Regions from separate parts of the Homo sapiens genome. Here all the other regions are linked to region 3. The links are contacts of gene promoters, found by promoter capture Hi-C in blood cells and fetal thymus (Javierre and others, 2016). All regions are on one chromosome and are shown on one strand. Each heading gives the region's core, a stretch centred on a gene start or on the middle of the fragment in contact. The rest is flanking DNA. Distances are from core to core; before and after follow the strand shown. Region 1 holds the start of CKAP2L (cytoskeleton associated protein 2 like). Region 2 overlaps CKAP2L (cytoskeleton associated protein 2 like). Region 3 holds the start of IL1F10 (interleukin 1 family member 10).

Region 1 (4,021 bases), core at 46-2,545, 300 kb before region 3:
CTGGTCTTACGTCTTTTGTTTTTTTACAGGGATGATGATTTTTACCCACAAACCCTTATATGGCTTCCTTTGTTGGTACTAAGGATAAAATACGCCCGGTCTGCTCACGGCAGACACCTATACTATGGTGACTTTCTACGCAAGCCATTTGTGAGGGGATGACAAGTCAATAATTTCTGCCTTCAAGAACTTTCAAACTAGTAGTGGAGATAAAATCAACACAGCAACAATTACAGTATAAGGTAAAATCTAAGGGCCATAAGAGACGAAAAGAAGTATGGGAGTTCAGAGGTAGGGCATAAATGAGGGGAGTAGGTGGCTAGAAAAGGTTAAAAGTAAATAATGATGTGAAGGAAGACAAAAAGACGACAGGGGTGCCAAACGACTCTTAACCTCATCTGAACGGAGTTGCCCTGTTTTGCTCTCTGATGCTCATGTATCTATCCTTAGAGACAGCTTGGCGGGCAATGTAGAGCGTAGGGGCTGACATAGGGGGTTGGAGTCCCACCTCCGTGACTTCTAGCAAATTAGCAAACTTTGCTGCTGCTAAGCCTATAAGGCGGACAGAAATGCCATCTTTAAAGCTTGTTATGTAAAGTGCCTAGGACCTCGTAGGCATCAACAGGAATAATGGATGAAACAAAACAACGGTGCGTATCTTGGAGAAAGTGGCATCTGAGCAGGAGTATTTTGAAAGGTAGGAAAGGGCTCCAAGCACATCTAAGAGATTAGGGAACGCAGAAGCCTTAGCCCTGGGTGCAGATTTAACCAATCAACTTCTAACCACCGCAGGCTGAGAGGTGTGGAGTGAGAGCCCCGCCAGAGGCAGGAGACCCGGGCTTCGGCCAGACCCCGCCTCCTGGCACAGAGGACCACGCCCGGCTCTGCCTGGAGCCAAATGTGGATCAAAACAGCGCGCAGCTTCCCACTGCTGGTGAAAACCCGAGCAAGGGGCCTCAGTTTCTTTATCCGGAACGTGGTGACAATGACATCTCTTTGCAAGGCTGCTGCAGGGCTTTCTGGAAATACGCCCGTGAGGTATCTGGGCCTGCGCACAGCCTCCCCCGCCCAGGACCCAGACGTCTACCTGGGGGTCCCGTCTGCGCTCCCGGGATGGAAAACGCCCAGGGGAAACTTAGGCAGGCGAGCGGACGGGCACCTCCCGCGGGACGAACTCACTCGGTGGCCTCCTACTTCCCCGGCCGTGTTCCAACGCCTGAGAATAACGGGAACAGCGGTCGTACTCACCGACAGCGGCAGCAGCGGTAGGCCCGGGCCCCACCATGACTCTTCAGTGACAGTTTTTCTTCAAACGCCGCGCCTGTAGCCAGGACCGGCGTGCCGCGCGTCCACGCGTCCTCATTGGCTCCTGCGGGTTTGAAACTCGCTAGTCGTCAGCACGGGAGGGCGGGACAACAGGCAATAGGCTCTTTGCGGTTGGCTCTGGCCTTGAGAACCCGACCTTGGGGCCCTTTGATTGGAAGAACGTGCAGCGCACCTCGGCATTGAGGGCGGCTTCCTCGGGGCGCGGCGCCGCCCGCCTCTGAGTGCGCCTGTGAGTGCGCCTCCGAGTGGGCGTGGGACCCTCCGTGGGGGCCTCAGCCGGGCTGGTGGTTGGGGGGCGGTTACGCTGAATCCAGCTGGGGTTGGCGCGCCGGGAGTCCCTGGGCGGAGAGACAGGGCGGTCCTCCCAGGATGCTGGGGCCGCTACCTGATTCTGTCCTTTCAAAGTCTCAGACTCACAGGAGCTGTGAAAAAATAATATTATAAAGAGGACATATGGGTCTTATGCATCTAAAGGCTCCTAGTTCTTAGTACTGCAGGGTGGCTCGTTTAATTGTGGTAAAATATGCATAACATCACATATACCATTTTAACCATTTTAAAGTGTTAAATTTTTCAAAAATGTGCAGTTTAGTGGTATTAAGTACCCTCACATTGTGGCACAGCCACCACTACTGTCCTTTCCAGAACTTTTTCATCTTCCCAAATGAAACCCTGTACCCGTCACTAACTCCGCACTCCTCCCTCCCCCAGCCCCAGGCAATCACCATTCTAGTTTCTGTCTCTATGGATTTGACAACTGTAGGTGCCATATAAGTAGAATCATGCAGTATTTGTTCTGTGACTGGCTTGTTTCACTTAGCATAAAGTATTCAAGGTTCATCCATGTGTAGCATGTGTCAGAATTTCCTTTCCTTTTAAGGGGGAATAGCATTTCGTTGTGTGGAGATGCCACATTTTGCTTCTTGGTCCATCCCTCTCCGGACACTTGAGTTGCTTCCACTTTTTGGCTATTGTGAATAATAATATGAACATGAATGCACAAATAACTCTTTGAGACTCTCCTTTTCATTCTTTTGGGTATATACCACGAAGTGGTATTGTTGGATCAAACGGCAATTCTATTTTTAATTTTTTGAGAAACTGCCTTACTCCTCTCACGGTGATCTCTTGTTCAAGGTATATTTTCGATTTCACCTGATCAGCTGACTATAAGGCCATAAGGCTAACGGAGAAACGCAGGCCTAGTTTCTCCTAGTTACTAGGAGATCGCAGGCCTCGTTGTCCTGAATCCCTAGACACACTTCATTCCCCTTGTTTTAATCCTAAATTTTTTTTCTTTTGAAGTTTGTCCTGTTTCATCTATTCTCCAGTTTCTTAAAGAGGTCTGGAAAATGCTTTTGGCTCCTTGTGTATGAAGGTTCCTCTTCCATGGATGCTGGAGAAGTCGTGTGTGGAGGGGCAGTCATATCTGGGCACCTGTTGGCCAGGTTCAGCTTACCAGTTGGGTACTCAGCAGGGCATGAAGCCACTGCAGCAGCCCTTCTCTTTAGCCGTAAATAGGGAGTTTGGAAGAGAGCCAGGGTTTCTGGATTTATGCATTTTGATATTTTCAATAGTGTATTAAATGTTTAAAATAGGAAAACTGATCATTATTTTTGTTAATGACTGAGAAAGGGACTCCTTCACCAACAGTTTCAGAAAAGTGAAGGCGGTTTTGTTTTGGTCTTTGTAGAATCTAGGTGGTTGAATGCATGTCAGTTGTAGAAGTCACCTTGCCTGATATCCCACGCAGTGCTGGAGTATTCCACAGACCCCATGTAGGTACTGCACCTTTGCAGGTATACTGCTGGTGTTGGTGAGCTGCCTTACCTGTCCTGTTATTGGAGACCCCTGCTTATTAGGAAACTTAAAATGAACTCAAATGAGCTTCCTTGCTTACTGGTCCTAGTCCTTTGGAGCAACATAGGCCAGTTCTGCCTCGTTTTTTTCCATCCTTTGGGTATTTGACGGTCTATTTTGTAGGACACAAAATGTGGGAAAATAGCTAGGCAGGTTTAAAAATTCTCAACTCTACCAAGCATGGTGGCTTATGTCTGTAATCAATCCCAGCACTTTGTGAAGCTGAGGCAAGAGGATTGCTTGAGCCTAGGAGTTTGAGACCAGACTGGGCAACATAGCAAGACCTCGTTTCTTAAAAAAAAAAAAAAAATTACAAAAATTAACCAGGCATGGTGGCACACACCTGTAGTCCCTTCTACTCAGGAGGCTGAGGTGGGAGGATCACTTGAGCCCAAAAGTTGAAGGCTGCAGTGCACTGTGGTCATGCCACCGCACTCCAGCATGGGAGGCAGAGCAAGACCCTGTCTCCAAATAAATAAATAAATTAAATTCTTAACTCATTCATCAAAGTATCCACTGTAGCTTTCCATGATCCTGGTGTTGTTTTTTTTAGAAGGATCTGGCTCCATTGCCCGGCTAGAGTGCAGTGGCATGATCTCAGCTCACTGCAGCCCCCACCTCTCTGGCTTAAGCGATCATCCCACTTCAGTCACCCATCTGGGTAATTTTTGTATTTTTTGTAGAGATGGGGTTTTGCCATGTTGCCCCAGGTTGGTCTTGAACTCCTGGCTCAAGCGATCCATCTGCCTCCATCTCCTAAAGTGTTGGGATTACAGGTGTGAGCCACCACACCAGGACAATCCTGGTGGCTTTTAACGGTTTTCCATTGCTCTCA
Region 2 (4,120 bases), core at 1,427-3,926, 320 kb before region 3:
TGTTCCCCAGTTAAATCTACTCTTTTTTTTTGAGATGGAGTTTCGCTCTTGTTGTCCAGGCTGGAGTGCAGTGGCGTGATCTTCATTCACTCCAAATTCCACTTTCTGGGTTCAAACGATTCTCCTGCCTCAGCCTCCTGAGTATCTGGGATTACAAGCACGCACCACCACAACTGGCTAATTTTTCTTTTCTGTTTTTTTTTTTTTTTTTTTTTTTTTTTAAAGACAAGACAGGGTTTCACCACGTTGGTCAGGCTGGTCTCAAACTCCTGACCTCAGGTGATCCACCTGCCTTGGCCTCCCAAAGTGCCGGGATTACAGGCGTGAGCTACCGTATGCAGCCTAAATCTACTATTAAAGGAAAAAGATTTGTCACCTTTTAAGATAACAAGAAGAATCCAATTTATTTTCTAAAGATAGCTTGTTTTTTCTTTCCATTCATATAACAAGTATCGTAAGCAATTATAATGTCACTCGTGTTTGGCACAATATATGTCTCATAGAAGAGTCTTCTAAAGGTTATGACCACTGACAGTGATGGTCATCCAATTGAAGAGATTCCTGAGATAGCTATTTTTAAAGCGTAACACAAATTTAGATGAGTATGTTGGTGGGTTTATTATGATTAAACATGTAACTTAAGGCATTTCTCCTTTCTGCCTCAGTCTCTTCCAGCAAAGAGCTGTTTGTCTTCTGCCATCTAGGATTCCAAGGAAGTGGGACACTCCAGTCTAGGCTGTTTTGGTGGAAACAACCTTTGTTCAGTATTGAGTAGTGCATTTACTTGTAATAATACAAATAAGTCAGCTGATGACAATGGCTGAAAGGGCCAGGTCATGGAAACCAAGAAGTGAGAAGCATTTCAGGGGATGATTCTTTTCTTCTTTTTCCTATATGTCCTGGATGATTTTTACTGGTACAGCTAGAGAAGATGAATTTAAATTCAAAAATAATAGTACCTTCTGTGGTTCTGTTTGAGTCTTGCAAGATATTAAGAACAACTTTCCGCAACTCTTGTATTGGCTGGAAGGAAGGAAGAAAACATACAAAATCTTAAAAACATTCATGCAAAAAATTTGCTAAGGAACTTTAACTTCAAATACATGTTTTATAATAAAAGTTTCCTTTTAAAATCTCGTCTAACTATAAATCTTTTGTCTAGCTTGACAGTTTTATAGCTTCATGAGAAAAGTAAAGGAACAGAGAAAATTCTGATTAAGTGTTGGCACACTCGACTTAATGAACAGATGTATTTAAAGTTGTCCATAATGTAATTTGTCTACATCAAATTCTATTTTCCTATTGATTTGTATAATACTGTCAAATATGTATTCCTACATAAAAATTCTGGCCCAATGATGTAAAGCTAGCCACACAGAAAATGCATTTTATATATAGATATAGATATATTTTCTTGAGACAGAGTCTTACTCTGTCCCAGGCTGGAGTGCAGTGGCGCGATCTCGGCTCATTGCAAGCTCTGCCTCCTGGGTTCATGCCATTCTCCTGCCTCAGCCTCCCAAGTAGCTGGGACTACAGGCGCCCACCACCACGCCCAGCTAATTTTTTGTATTTTTAGTAGAGATGGGGTTTTACCGTGTTAGCCAGGATGGTCTCGATCTCCTGACATCGTGATCCACCCGCCTCGGCCTCCCAAACTGCTGGGATTACACGAGTGAGCCACTGTACCTGGCCCCAAACACAATGTTTTTTGAGATGGAGTCTCTGTCACCCAAGCTGGAGTGCAATGGTGCGGTATCGGCTCACCACAAACTCCACTTCCAGGGTTCAAGTGATTCTCCTGCCTCAGCCTCCCGAAGAGCTGGGATTACAGGCATGCGCCACCCCATCTGGCTAATTTTTCTATTTTTAGTAGAGACGGGGTTTCGCTACGTTGGCCAGGCTGGTCTCAAACTCCTGATCTCAAGTGATCCGCCTGCCTCAGCCTCCCAAAGTGCTGAGATTACAGGGGTAAGCCACTGTGCCTGGCCCAGATACAATCTTTGTAGGCATTTTGAGTAATTTTCTCCAGCTTTTCCTGTCTTTCTTCTTTTATTTGTTAACATACTTAGAAAAAAAAACCTTCATGGAAAAGTAATTTTCTGATAAAATTATCTGAGATAGGCTTTATTTTTCAAGTATGTAAACCATGCCATGAAGCAGAAGCTGCACTTTCCCACAAGAAAATTATAGTTGGAGGTTTGTCTTCCTTACCTGGAACTCTGTATCAAATAGATATAAACTGACAATAAAGCATAAAAGCAAAGCTTTCCGTACATTTTTTCAAAATCCAAAATAGAATTATGATTTCAGCTAAATGAATGGGAATAAATGTATAGAATATATTACAAAGAGTGAATTCTATACAACATTCATCAAGCATATTTTATATTTGTATAGCCTTCTGGTTAATGATGGTGGATTAAATATACGTTTATTTCTAATCTCTCTTGAAAATCGACTGAAAGGATAATAAAGGGATTAAGAAGAGGCAATAACCACAAAACATAGGAGAGAAGAAATGACAATAAGGTTTTGGAAGCTGCAGTGCAGAAGGAAGAGAGGTAAACAATTTGATCTACTTGAGAGAGTTGAATCCCAAGCTGGCAGTGTGGCTAAGAAACAACCTGACAGAAAGGCTAAGGAATGGGTGGTAGGGCCCAAATTAGGAGGACTCTTTAGCATCTGTTCAAAAAGCAGTCAGACCTCCAAATCCATCCTGCACCCCTAAACTCTATGCAGCCTAGTAACTGTGTCTGACTCCCTTCATCCTAACAGAAAACTGGGAATGTATTCTGCAAGTCTCTGAGGGATATCATGCAAGATTAGGATAGGGTGCTTTCTGAGAAAAGGAGATAAGCAAAAGTTTCTATGTTGAGGGTTGAGACTCCCTGCTCTCTTCTCTCCCACAGCACTGGCAGCCTGGTGTCTAGCTCCCAGGAAGGAGATTGGAACAGATTTCTCCAGATAACTTGACCAGCTTAAGAGGAAAGACCTAAAGATACTGATATTGAGGGTTTTCTAACTAGTCAACTCAGCCAGATCACCCTGTGTTGAAGCCCCATCCATGTGTCTCGGGCTTTAAATAAGCTTTTTCAGACCCACCTTTTATATGTGCAAACAGCCCAGTTTCACCAGCATCTGTGTAAAGCCTTTAAAGAATAATAGAGAACAAAACAAAAAGAACAAACAAACAATAACAAGAGAGAAAGAAATGAAAAACATTGGAGAAGAAATAGACAATGTAGGAAGAAGAAAACTAATATGGGTTCTAAAAACAAGGGATCCACCCAACTTAAGAAGGATGTAAAGGGAATCTAAAGGTGATGGTAAAGAGATCCCAGAAAGACAGCTGGTGAAGACGGCAGTAAAAAGTAACTTGTTCAGTCTGGAATAAGCCAGAAGGGTCTAGGAGAAAGCTCTTTATCTAAGAAAAAGGAATCAATAGAATATCTGATGTTTTCAAAGTATTGAGGAACTTAGACAATTAGCGAAGAGTTTGTGAATTAATTATATAATAAATACTCAGAAAACTAAGCAAAGGCAAAACAAGACAATAACTCCAGGAAAAGTAGAAAGTTGTGCTTGAAAGGCAAAGTAATCATAGTATATATTGCATGGCTCAACATATTCATGTATTTTTTTTTTTTTTTGAGACAGTCTTGCACTGTTGCCCAGGCTGGAGTGCAGTGGCCCGATCTCGGCTCACTGCAAGCTCTGCCTCCCAGGTTCATGCCATTCTCCTGCCTCAGCCTCCCGAGTAGCTGGGACTACAGGTGCCCGCCACCACGCCCGGCTAACTTTTTTGTATTTTTTAGTAGAGATGGGGTTTCACCATGTTAGCCAAAATGGTCTCGATCTCCTGACCTTGTGATCCACCTGCCTCGGCCTCCCCAAGTGCTGGGATTACAGGCGTGAAACACCGTGCCCAGCCCATATATTTCTTATATATTCATAACAATGTGAATGCTAAATAGTGACCAGAATTTCCATGACTCTAATGAAAGTATAAGGAATGGCAAAGGTCTATAAGGATGGTAAATAGGGGTGTGTATTTGTGTGTGCTGGGGATCTGTGTATGTATGTGTGAAAGAGGGCTAAATCTTCACTCTGCATAGCT
Region 3 (4,662 bases), core at 1,394-3,893:
ACCCTGCTAAGATGTCACCTCCTCCAAGAAGCTTTTACTGAGTTGAGACACCCCCAGCTATCTGATCTGGCAATGTTTGTATGCACCTCCCTGCACTGTAGTACCTTAACTTGGAGTCTGTGGCCCCTGGGATGACCTTAAGGTTAGGGACATATAAGTTTGTCTCTTAGCACCTTGCATAATGCTTGGCACATAATGGAAACCCAATGAGTATATAATGTAGAAACTATTTCTCCACCCTGGAATATTCTCTCCTTCTCCTCCACCCATCTAAACAGGCCCACCTCTAAGGGAGCAGCTTAAATTCCACCTCATTCTTGAAGGTTTCTCCAGCCTGAATTTGTTGCTTCCTCATTTGTAGGATGACAGAACTCAGAAGAGCTTTAGCCATGATGAGCCGACACAAGTCAGTAGTAAAAGAAGGAATATAAAATGCCTCCTTCAGGAATGTACAGGCTGGACATCATGACTCTACAAGTGAAAAAGAGTTAGTGGCTTTAGATTTCTGCAATTTTGGTATAAATCACTGGCCTGGACCTGTATTTACAGAGATGCAATACTCACATCATGTGGGGTTTGTACAAATTGCAGACATCGAGGAACAGAGAATGTTCCAAGGGCAGGCTGTAGGGAAGAGGCTACGATGTGGGAGGTATTATCCTGAAAAAAGCAATGCACAGGGAGCCCTCTTCAAGCACTTAAAGGCTTGCCAAGTAGAAGAATGTGCTTGTTCTGTGTAATTCCAGAACACACAAGCAGAACCAATGGGTGCAAATTATGTGGAGGCTGTTTTTCCTATATGACCCCCATATTTTAACCACAAGGACCACAAACATTGATAGGGTTTCTTCAAGAGGTTGTGTGGTCCCTGACCCTGGAGATGTTAAGGCAGAGCCTAATTAACCAATTTCTCAGGGATGCCATAGCACAGATTTCTCCAATTGGAGGGAAACTATGATTCCATGTCTATGAGATGGAGTTTCACTCTGTCGCCCAGGCTGGAGTACAGTGGTGCCATCTTGGCCCACTGCAACCTCTGCCTCCCAGGTTCCAGTGATTCCCCTGCCTCAGCCTCCTAAGTAGCTGGGCCTACAGGTGCATGCCACCATGCCTGGCTAATTTTTCTATTTTTAGTAGACACGAGGTTTCACCATGTTGGCCAGGCTGGTTTGAACTCCTGACCTCAAGGGATCTGCCTGCCTTAGCCTCCCAAAGTGTTGGGATACAGGCATGAGCCACCATGCCTGGCCTAAAGTCCTTTCAATTCTAAGATTTTTTTTTTGCCCAAGGAGCTTATCTGCCACTATTGTTTCCAACATGTCCTTGGCCCACAGCTTAGAGAGTCTGGTCTTCTTAATTATCTTTTCAAGTGTTTATGACTTAGTTCCTCAGCTAGACTGTGAAACTACTTAACAACAAGGACTGTGTATTGAATGTCTGTGTCACACAGCAGTGTAAATGCTGGGTAAACACTCATTGGTTGCCTGACATAGTAACTCATGCTTTAAGCCTTCCCATAGAAGGGTGAGAGATTGGGAGAGTGGAAGAAGAATGATCACTGGCCTTAGAAAGCAGAAATCTGGTCCCATTTCTGCCCATCTTTTCTCATTTCTCATCCTGCAGGCATCTGAGTCTTAGACCCACCTATCCCACTTCCTCAAGAAGCCCTTGGTGGAACTTTGCAAATGACCAAAGAGGGAGAATTATAATAAGGTTGTTAGTTTCCAGAGAACATTACACCTAAGCTTCTCCACGCTTGTAATGGAGGGATGGATGGATGGATGGATGGATGGATGGATGAATGGATGGATGAAAGGGTGGACAGAAGGGTGGATGGATGGGCACATGGGTGGATGGATGGTTGGATGGATGATGGATGGATGGAAGAATGGACAGATGGGTAGATAGATGGACAGATGGGTGGCCGGGTGGATGGATGGATGGATGGACTGAGTCAAGTAATGTCAATTAGAGACCTGAGTGTTCTTTCCTCTGTGCTCTACTCACACTATCATATTTCCTAGCAGTCCATGGCACATGATGTCTGCTCAGTCTCAGGGTGAATCTGAGGTCAATATCTTTGCAGTTGGGTTTCCCTAGATGTTCTGTCCCATCAAGCTGGTACCAACTAATTAAACCCACTGAAAAGCAGAGACTCCCTTCTCGTCTTTCCAAACAGAGTCACACTCACAGTGCTATCAGCCCCTTCTCTTATTCTGGCTGTCTGGCCACAGCCTGGATTCCGGCATCAGAATTTGTTCTGTCCTTGGGCTTGCCAGACATACTTTCTCTTGTATTCACCACCTCTTCAAGCCTAGGATGGAGCCCCACGGGGCACCAAAGATGTCTGACCCCAGCACTGTTTATCTGGCTGCAAACCCACTAATAACATAGTCAACGACAGTCAGTACAGAGCAGGGGCCCCATACCTTATTTCTGCCAAGGCTTTATGGATGACTCTCTCCCCCTTCAACAAATGCTCCTTAATGTTCCCACCATCTTATTATTCATGCTGTACCAAAGACATTGTGAAATGCCCAGGCTCTTCTTCCTTCATGTCCTGCAGCCAATTATAGAGATTGGTGCAGGCCTGACCCACCTGTACCAGACGGTATAAACACAGCGCAATGCCCTGGAGAAATCAGTTGGAGTCTCCAGGGATCAGGGTTCCAGGAACTCAGGATCTGCAGGTCAGTGATGGACAGGCAATATTCTCTCTCTCTTTTCTTTCTTTTCTACTCTCTCCTGTCAATATCTCTGGTATGCCCTCTATCCCTTCACTCCTCCTGGCAAGCTGTCTAGGTAACAAGGTAGTCCCCTCATATGACATGATGGGACATCAAAAACATTTAGGAGCACATAAAGAGATTTGAGGAGAAGGAATAGGTTAAGCCAAATCAAGATTTCTGAACTACTTAGAACAACTGACTTTAGAAAGTAATCTCAAAAGAAACCATCTGGGCCAATGGTATTCAAACCGTGTTTGGTGGAAGCTTAAGAGATTTTTTGTTTTCGTTTTTTTTTTTTTTGTGCTCCTTGGTAGCTCCTCAGTGTCTTCTTTGTAGGCAAGAGAAATACTAGCAGGGTTCCAAAGTCTCCATTGCTTCCTGTGTCAGCAAAGCAGCTGCCCTTTATCCTTTTTACAATCATTAGAATTCTGCATAAAATTTTATTGTGAAACTTAAAACAGTTTTGAAAGATACCTTACTCAATCTTTCCATCCAATGTTGATAAGTTGAAGGCCCAGGGATAAAAGGTGGCAAAATAAATTGGTAGCAGAGCTAGGTCTAGGACTCAGCCTTTCTATTCAAAGTCTGCTCTGTGTGTTTCTATGTCCTGGCCACAAGGACCAGGGTAGTTCAATTAGGGTGGTTGGAGAGAGCTTCAAGTGAGCTGTAAGCCATGCTTCATGACTTCAAGATCTTATAAACTTTTATAAGGGAAACAAATATCTTTATGTACAACAATAAATAATACAGTAAAATTTAATAGGAGTTCAGAGTAGAGTTACAATAGTAAGGGAAAGATTCATTAAACTCTGAGTCATGGAATTATAAATAGTTTGGCCTAGAAAGAACCTTCATAACCACATAATCTAATCCCATGAATGTATAGTGCTGAAACTGAGGGTTGGAGGTTAAAAGACATAACCCTGTATGTCTAAGCTGTAACTCTACACTGGTAATTAATTTGATAGAACTAGATACTGAACCCATCTATACTGATACTATCTCCAGTGATCTTAATATCAAAAGATCTGAATGGATGACAATGAGAAGGGATGACTTTTGAGGCAGGGAGAACAATGGGACACCTGTGAGTACGTCCACTGAGAAGATAAGAAAGGAATTATGTCGCCAGGAGGTGTGGTTTAGTGTCCATGGAGAAGTGAGATGCTATCACACAAGAAAATCAGTGCCAGACGGTGACAAAACAGTCAGTCACTGTAGATTCTAGAGCTGGGCAGGGATGTGGTGAAAAAAATCTTTAGAACGTGGGTCCACATTCCTCACATAGGTTGGAATGAATGAAAGGCAGAAAAACCGGGAATACAAGTACAGTAGTAATGGCAATTAAAAACACAAAGTTATATTTTAAAGAAATAACCTGTAGGGACTTGATAAGTTAGACACTGAGTCAGGAGAAGTAGGAGATATTGTCAATGAGTCTCAGGTTTTGAATATCACTGGTGAGAGGAATATTATGACAGTGAGAGAAATGAAATTGGGAGGAATGTGTGGGCTGGGAGGAGAAGATAATTAACTTAACCTTAAATATATTTGGTTGGATATCAGCAGGATGTCCAAAGTGGGCTGTCCTGTAGGCTGCAGGAGGTAAAGTGGGATGTGCAGTCTACATTTGGGAGCCATTAGCCCAAGATAATCATTGCAGCTGTAGAAGTCAATGAATTGCAGCTTAATATGATGTGAAATAGAAGTGCTTAGGACCTTGTTAGCCTTAGGGGTGGCCCCAGAAGGAGGTGAAATCTACAGTGGGAGAAAGAGGTGTGAAGGGAGTCATTCAATGTCAAGGGTTCCAAGGAGGCAATGACTAAATATCAAAGGAATCAAAAGAATCTCTGGATCTTGCTCCACAGAAGTTAATATTGGTCTTGGACAGAACATCCCACATAGATACTGTGCAGGAGAATGATGAAGGATA

Evidence for each region. Contacts are between HindIII fragments. The CHiCAGO score rates a contact against its expected background, and 5 or more counts as called.
Region 1: the fragment with the promoter of CKAP2L here is called in contact with the fragment with the promoter of IL1F10 in region 3 in 1 of 17 cell types (M1 macrophages); the score reaches 6.1 in M1 macrophages.
Region 2: a contact is called between a fragment that was not itself captured here and the fragment with the promoter of IL1F10 in region 3, in 4 of 17 cell types (M1 macrophages, M2 macrophages, M0 macrophages and 1 more). The highest score is 9.5, in M1 macrophages.

What each region holds. Positions count from the first base shown.
Region 1 is chr2:112,763,314-112,767,334 of GRCh38, forward strand. It overlaps CKAP2L (cytoskeleton associated protein 2 like), which reads right to left and starts at 1,296. Exons shown (of 9, transcript NM_152515.5): 1 at 1,249-1,296. The coding sequence starts at 1,285. RefSeq lists an enhancer at 926-1,065 and a silencer at 1,516-1,675. The HindIII fragment of the contact is 4,243 bases long and covers 583-4,021 here.
Region 2 is chr2:112,741,747-112,745,866 of GRCh38, forward strand. It overlaps CKAP2L (cytoskeleton associated protein 2 like), which reads right to left. Exons shown (of 9, transcript NM_152515.5): 7 at 960-1,023. It also overlaps a transcript of NT5DC4 not described here. Among named protein-coding and RNA genes, the nearest start is that of CKAP2L, 21 kb to the right of the region's middle. The HindIII fragment of the contact is 823 bases long and covers 2,266-3,088 here.
Region 3 is chr2:113,065,327-113,069,988 of GRCh38, forward strand. IL1F10 (interleukin 1 family member 10) reads left to right here and starts at 2,644. Exons shown (of 5, transcript NM_173161.3): 1 at 2,644-2,690. The HindIII fragment of the contact is 1,248 bases long and covers 1,744-2,991 here.